Linked DNA regions of Homo sapiens: region 2 is linked to region 1. Evidence: promoter capture Hi-C in 16 types of primary human blood cells and fetal thymus (Javierre and others, 2016). All regions are on one chromosome and are shown on one strand. The core of a region is centred on a gene start or on the middle of the fragment in contact, and the rest is flanking DNA. Distances in the headings are between cores, read along the strand shown. Region 1 holds the start of NRIP3 (nuclear receptor interacting protein 3). Region 2 overlaps DENND5A (DENN domain containing 5A).

Region 1 (3,827 bases), core at 693-3,192:
GAATTCTTACACAGCATGAAGTAGTATAAGAAATCCTAGGCAGAAGGAAGTTCAGGTAGCTCTCAGGGCTAGGAAACTCCTCGACAACGAGGGACAACCAAATCCAGCATTTAAAAACTCTGTATTTTAATTCTTCTCTTAATATAATACTTCCTTCTTTATTGATTGCTGAGCATTCTAGGAACTAGGATAGGATTATTTGGCCTGAAGGAAAGAATACTTCTCGAACCTGATTTGTTAAATGAATCGAGATTGCTTTAAAGTGAAAGAAGGGAAAAGAGAGTTATCTCTTTTGCAGGAGCACATTTCAATCACTTATCACTCTGGGTTAGCATAAATCAGATAAACTATCCTGTGGGTTGTGCAAAAAGCAAAACAAAACAAAAAAACACAACTTGTAAAAAAAACAGAGCAAGATAACTGAAGTAGACAAACTCTGCACAGAAGTAACTAATGGCAGGGAGGAGAAAAATTTTTGTATATTATATTATACTGTGTATAATATAATGTACCTGTGTATCATTAGAGCTGTTAAATTAAAAAAAAAAAAAAAAAAAAAAGGAAATGGATGCAGAAGCTCTGCCCTCCTGGGGCCAGAAATGGCAATTTCAGTGAACTAGGGCCGACAACCACATCCAAAATTAAATATTTCAAAAGCTTAAAATAAAAAATACTAGAAAAATTATGCAGAGCACCTATTTCATTTGTTAAAAGACATTTAATTAGTGTTTCACATATTACCACCCAAATGAATAAAGCGATTGTGAAATTCAAGAAAACAATCAAACTACAAGAAAACTCCAGATAAAACTACAAAGTTAAACATAAACTTGGCCCAGGACCACTACAGTGGCTGAGGGATGACAAATACAGTTCTTTATATTGGTAACCCTTAGCCATCCATCCCATTCTATAGAAAGAGGACAGTACCATCTTTGACCCCAGGCCCCCTGTCCTGAGGTGCTTCTACTTAATGCCAGGAACAACTGTGCTAGAAAAAAAGACTGCACCCACCCCAGCTCCAGATGCACACATTAGCTGGTCGGTGAGATGCAGCAGCCTGGCTTCCTCCCTCTACCCACTCCTTGGGGGCGGGGCTGGAAGAGGAGAATGATGAAGAGATGTTGGGGGTTCAGGAAACCTTCACATTTGGCCCCTTTTCTCTCTCCCCACTCAGGATGGAAGGTCAAAGTTAGGACCAAAACTAGAGAAGTGGGTTTTGCATAGGGGGACAATGGATTCAACAGAAGTCCTCTGGATCTGGCAACTGTCAAAAAACCCTCTTTCCACTTCTTTCCCCCTCACGGAAAGCCATTAGGAATCACCTCTGTCTGGGTCATAGGAACAGCCACACAGCATAGGAGGCACAAGCCCCGTGAACAAAATTCGGTATTAAGAATAAGGAAAAAGAAAGAAGACCCGAGGGCAAGAGGGCAGGGCAGGACCTCTTCTTTCTACTGGAGAAGAGACATCCAGGGAGGAGGCACAGCCGAGGGGAGCGCAAGCTAGAAAAGCTACGACGGAATCCCCACCGAAACCGCAGCAGGGGTACTGGAAGGGGAGGAATCCGCGACGCAGCGACCGCGAGCCAAGGGCAGCGGCGGGCCGGGCCGTGACTCAGTGAAAGCCGCAACGGCCGGGCCTCGGAAAACGGCGGGCGCGAAGCCGCCGGGGCCGGGGCGAGAACGGCGGCGGGGGCTCACCATGTCCTTGGACGAGCCCAGCTTCTTGAGGCCGTCCAGGGGCAGCAGGTCGGCGGAGTCCTTGTGGATGAACTGCACCGCCTGCTTCATCCGGCGCTGCTGTCGCAGTGACGCCGCCTCCCGCATGTCGGTCTCCTTGCGGCCGCCCTCAGTGAGGAGCCCTGAGTAAAACATCGCTGAGGCGCCGGCGGCCCGGTAGCCCACAGCCCCCCGGCAGCCTCAGCCTCGAGCTCCTCCAGCGCCGCAAGGGCCCCGAGCCGCGCCTTTTATAGCCGAGCGTGACGTCGCGGGGAGCAGCCAGTGCGCGCGCGGGGGGCGGGGCCGGCACAGAGTCCACGCCCCGCGCGGCTCCCTCGCGTCCCGCGTCCCGCGTCCCGCGTCCCCTGCTCACCCGGTGGCAAAGCCGGCGAGGAGGCGGCGGCGCTGGTGGGGACTGACCCGGCAGTCCGAGAATCCACCGCGGCCTTTTCACCCAACCGCCCCCTCCTGCGTGGGGGCCCCGCATCCCCTGGACTGGCGTGGGCTCTGGGGCCCGATGCCCTGGCAGCCCCGGCCATCTCTGCCGCTGGCCGCGGGTACCTGCTCACCTGTCCACGCCGTGGCCGACCCGGGGATCACCGACAGCCGGGCCATGCCTCGAGTCCCGCCGCCCGCGCCGCTGCTCGGCTTCTCAGAAACGCACCTCCACGCCGCCAGCCGGGGCTCCAGGGTCCACCGCCCGGGCCCGGAGGACTGGCGACTCCCTCCGAGGTTGGGAGCGCTCCGGATTTCTCCAACTTCAGGTCGGTCCCCACCCACCGGGCCACGTGACTGGGGAGGGGGCAGCCGGTGCAGGCGTGTGGAGGAGGCTTTCGGGACCTCCTCCCCCGGGCACCCTCTGCCTGCAGCCCGGCACCCGGCCCGCGTTTCCGAGCCGGGGGAGCAGGTGCAGTCGGAAGCCCGCGGGTGGGCGTGGGGCGGGGGAGTGGCGAGGGTCCCCCGCCTCCGCGGGAGCGCACGCGGCTGCGAGCCCTACACCTGCTCTCCGACCAAAGAAGCACCTGTTTTTCTCAATAAGTGCTAGGGCTTACCATCTAAAGGATCGTTCACCATCCCTCCAGCGTCCTTAGTAGGAGCGATTGGAACCCGTTTTTCTTCCTGAATAATCCATACTTTTAAGCCATTCTAATCGGGCCTTCAGGCATCCTGGATTCTGGTCTCGACATTGTGATTTGACACAAATCACGTTTTCACTCTGGAAACCACAACTACTCCCTCCACCCCATCACGCAGGAGCAGACCTGGATAAGAAATATGTGCACTCTGCAAAGAACCAATGATAAAAGTAACAATATCGACGCTTACTGAGCCTTTACTATGTGCCAGGTACTAGACTAGACACTTAAAATGCAGTATCTCATTGGATCCTGGCAACAGCTTGTAAGATAGTATTCTCATCACCCCCATTTTACAGGCAAATACCTGATACCTTCTGTCTGGCCTCCTGAATGCTCCTTGGTTCCATTCCAATACGTTGTTCACTGTGCTGCCAGAGTAATCTTCTCAAACGATAAGTGTGATCATCTCACTTCCCTGCTAAGAGCACCTCAAAAGGCTTCCTATTGCTCTTAGGAGAAACCCACATTCTTGCATGGTCTGCCTAGACCCTGCATATTCACTCTGTACTTCAGCCTCATGGGCCTTCTTCCAGTTCCTTCCAGTCACCTGTTGCCAAATGGCCTGCCTTTGACTGTCCTGTTCCCTCTGTGTGCAGTGCCCCCTCCTACCCTCTTCAGGAAACTCCTATGCTTCTTCCAGACCTCAGCTCCATTATCATTTCTTTAGGAAAGCCTTCTCTGACCTTCCAGAGAGAGTGAAGTCTCTCTAATTATATACTATCTATCTCTTGGGCATTTGACACTTTCTGTGGGGGTAGGGGTAGGGGGGTACTGGTTGTTGGATTAATATTTGTCTCCTCCACTGATTGGAACCTCCAGGAAGGTGACTGAACCCATTTTTTGCTTAGCATTGATGCCCTAATATGCAGAGGGTTCTCAAATACTAGTGAAAGGATGGCAAAAAGTTAAGGTCGTACCAAAGAAATCAAGTGGTAAAGCTGGCATTTACTCCCAGAACCTGTGCTGG
Region 2 (3,974 bases), core at 460-2,959, 140 kb after region 1:
CACTTCACAGCAGGTGACTGCTAAAGTAAACCCTGTACAACAAACACAAAGTGGGTGAAGGGGAGGCATTCCAGGCAAAGGGAAAATGCATGCAAACCAGGAAAGCATAAAAGAGGGCACTGATTGGTCTGAGGTGCCTGACTTGATCACGTTACACTTCTTCTGGAGCTTCCTGCCAAAGCAGCCTGAAGAATAAAAATGAACGAAGCTGGACCTCTCATAAAGGTCTCCCACCTGCCATCCCCAGGAAAGCAAACCTTTCTTTCAAGAGCTTCCCCCGACCCCCAGCTTCCCACACCTGGTCTCCCTTACCCTCTCAAGAAAGGGCCCATCCTGTCTCAGTCAAGTGACAACCTCTGCACCCCTGGCCGGGTCTTTTCCCTCCTGTGTCTCAGTCTCCTCCTCTGTGGAGTGGGGAAAGAACCCTGTCTGCATCCATGTGAATCAGCCACATAACAGCTAGGAAGGCTCCTAGCACTGCGGGCAGAAGGACCCAGGAGACCCCAGGCCCTCAGGGGCATCCTGGGCAGGCCACAACCCCGAGCCTGCTGGTAAAGAGAGGTGATGCCACAAGACCATCCTCACAGATGGACCCAACTGCACCCGCAGCCACCCACTGCTCATAAACCTCCATAAAAATCAGTGATCCATGCAGTTTTTGTTTCAGGTGTTTTATTAAGTGGGCCATACTGTAGCTGGTTTCTAAGTTGCAAAACATAAATTTAATAATAATAACATAGCCAGTTAGATTGTGACAAGCTTTTCCTTTCCTTAAAAAAAGAAAATACTTAAAAACACACAATGGCGGGTTAAATAAATAAAACATTTTAAAAAAGAAAAAAGAAAAGAAAAACCTGTTAAAACATGCTTATGTTTACTTCTGTGAAACTGTGCCAACAGGAAATGTGGTATTTGGCACGATGACACATCCCGGCATGTCTCCTTCCCAAACAATACTGACAAAAAAGAAAATACGTGGGACTGACTCATCGGTGCTTGCTTAGAGGCACTACTAAAAATCCCTTTGATTGGAGCATGGGGCTTCCCGCGCAGCACACCTGTGTGTGGCCTATGAAAGCCAAATATCCATAATAATGTTAATATAGAAAAACATTAGTTTAAAAATGATGTGGAAGGGCCTCATTAATGCGACGGGGCAAGGAAACATAACTGTCCCGCACGCAGTGCCACAGGCTCAGTCCAGGGAGGCCTCAGGCTTCCAGCATGTGGCCACGGCGAGGGAGGGCACCAGCTTCAAAATAAGCGGCACCAGCCTCGCTCCCTCTCCCTATCACTCTTTCACATGAAAGTGTGTAAAAAGCAAATCAGCAAATAAACTCTAAAATAGATTATTTATTCCAAAAATCCTCTAGTTTTCTTTTTACAGTGAGTGTACATTTTGTCTCCTACTCCTGCACAATCGCTTAAGTCCCTTTGGGAAAAAAGGTCAGAGCTGCAGGGTGAGTCTTTCTCAGTCCTGCTGCTGGCTGGTGCTGGGAGGTCAGATGTCGATGCCCTTGACAAGGGACGTCTCCAGCGTGATGTTGAACTCCTGCAATGTCTGCAGCACACGAATCAAGGAATTGACAAGTGTATGGTCTTTGATCAGTGCCACATCCTCATACATGTGTGCAGTGATGGGGCAGTCAGCCAGCAGGGCAATCCAGTGGTGTAGGAGGTGATCTCTGGCAGAGCGGGAGCAGTCCAGGCAGGTCAGAGGGGCAAAGGAAAAGGAAGAGAGAGCGTTAGTGCAAGGCCAAGGGGGAAACCATGAACTAAGTCTGAAGCTGGAGAAGCTGACAGCCCCCCACACCCCCCTTTCCCAAACAGGGACTGGCAAAGAGGTCTTTCAGCTCCAGGACACCAAACAAACCTGACCCAAATCAGCCCTGTCATGAGCCTCCAAGCCTCCTCCTCCCCTGCCTCCCTCGCCCTGCCTAGTCAGCCCCACCACTGGTGTCTCCCAGAGCTTCTCTCCTCCCACAGCTACCACCACCAGGAATAATAATAAGCACTAACCTCACATAACACTCAGCATGTGCTGGCACTGACATAAGAGATTTAATCTTCATGATAACCCTGTGATATGAGGTAGGTACTATTATTATCCCCACTTTATAGATGAAGAAAGTAGGGTAGATGGAAGTTAAGTAGCTTGTCCAAGATCACATGGCTAGTAAATGGATAACTTGAGATCTGAACCTAGTGAATGCGGTTCTGGAGTCTGTTTTTAACCACTATGCCAATTCTCTCCCTTTATGCAGCCTGAATAAACTGCCTTAAGTTTATTTGAGCTTCATGCTCTCTCACCTGACCTACAGGAATAGCCCCTAATAATCATGTCCACTCTAATGCATACCACCCATAATATCAGATTAATATTACTTCAGTCCCCTGATGAAACAACTTTGTACTAATATGAAAAGAATCTTTCTCTGTCCCAGCTCAGGGGCCCTACCCTCCTTTCAACTGTGTTTCCTATTACTGCCCTTGCCACGTTCTGTTATTTCCTTCCATTAAAGGCTCACTTAAATACCAACTCCTCCCTGAAGTCTTCTCTGATCTTTCTCCTCTACCTTTTCAGCATATTGTATGAATGTACACTTCATTTTTGGACCCTCAAAACCTTCTTCCATGCTCTGTATTTAATTAGGACAAGTAAGCTTCTAAATGTTGGCCAGGCATGGTGGCTCACGCCTGTAATTTCAGCACTTTGGGAGGCCAAGGAAGGCAGATCACCTGAGGTCAGGAGTTCAAGACCAGCCTGACCAACATGGAGAAACCCCGTCTCTACTAACAATACAAAACTAGCCAGGCGTGATGGCGCATGCCTGTAATCCCAGCTACTCGGGAGGCTGAGGCAGGAGACTCACTTGAACCCAGGAGGCGGAGGTTGTGGTGAGCCGAGATCACACCATTGCACTCCAGCCTGGGCAACAAGAGCGAAACTCCATCTCAAAATAAATAAATAAATAAATAAATAAATGGTAAGGGGCCACGTTTTATTCAGCTGTCTTCCTACCAACTTCCATAAGGCCATTTAAATGTCTAATGAAGGAATAACTAGATATACTCTGCTTCAAACTTCCCCAGTGGTGTGATTTTGATCTTTCCTTTCAAAATGGGGCCCCTCTGCCCCGAGTTACATACACGTTGTCATCCCTACCCCGACAGATCACCACACACATAAGTCACGTGTTGCTTAATGACAGGGATACAGTCTGAGAAATGTGTCATTAGACAGTTTCGTCACCATGCGAACTTTATAGGGTTCTCATACAAACCTAGATGGTAGAGCCTACTATATGTCTAGCCTGTTGCTCCTAAGCTACAAATCGGTACAGCCCTGTCACCAGCCCCCAGGCCTGCTCTTCTACACTTCTCCTGGAGCTTCCTGCCACAGCAGCCTGAAGAATAAAAATGAAGGAATACTGTGCTGAATACCGTAGGCAACTAAAACACAATGGTAAGTATTTGGGTACCTAAACATCTCAACCTATAAAAGGTACAGTAAAAACAGAGTATAATCTTATAGGACCATCATCCCATAAACAGTCCGTCACTGACAAATGTTGTTACGCAGCACATTTTATGCAGTGTGTGACCATACACGATACACAGAGGAAATTCAGGGCTTCTAGGAAACCTTCTAAGGCCTCATCTCCCTAAGGGCACCTGATGAGCCATTCCTCACCCCTGCACTGCACCAGGCCTCCAACACCACCACCAAGGCTAACCGCTGTGCACTCTGGGCCCTGGGTCTGCAGTACCTGGCTCCCAAGCACACCAGCATCTGAAACTTGCCATCCTTGCCGATGTTCCGGGGAGTATTGTTGATTGCAGTGACAAATCGGCAGAAGTTCCGGGCTCTTGTATGCCAGTTTTCCTCAGGGACTACTTCATTCTTCTCTAATGTCTCATAATAGGTTTGTGCTTTTTCTGTGAAGAGTAGAAAAGCTTGCCAGTGAAAAGGC

What was found. The method cuts DNA at HindIII sites, captures the fragments that hold promoters and counts their contacts. A CHiCAGO score of 5 or more calls a contact.
Region 2: a fragment that was not itself captured here is called in contact with the fragment with the promoter of NRIP3 in region 1 in 4 of 17 cell types (M1 macrophages, M0 macrophages, M2 macrophages and 1 more); the score reaches 6.8 in M1 macrophages.

What each region holds. Positions count from the first base shown.
Region 1 is chr11:9,002,059-9,005,885 of GRCh38, forward strand. It overlaps NRIP3 (nuclear receptor interacting protein 3), which reads right to left and starts at 1,943. Exons shown (of 7, transcript NM_020645.3): 1 at 1,704-1,943. The coding sequence starts at 1,877. It overlaps NRIP3-DT (NRIP3 divergent transcript), which reads left to right and starts at 2,030. Exons shown (of 3, transcript NR_183663.1): 1 at 2,030-2,485. RefSeq lists an enhancer at 1,120-2,039. The HindIII fragment of the contact is 8,665 bases long and covers 656-3,827 here.
Region 2 is chr11:9,138,170-9,142,143 of GRCh38, forward strand. It overlaps DENND5A (DENN domain containing 5A), which reads right to left. Exons shown (of 23, transcript NM_015213.4): 22 at 3,771-3,939; 23 at 656-1,685. The coding sequence ends at 1,502. Among named protein-coding and RNA genes, the nearest start is that of SCUBE2, 49 kb to the left of the region's middle. RefSeq lists enhancers at 1-39, 853-1,147. The HindIII fragment of the contact is 1,904 bases long and covers 758-2,661 here.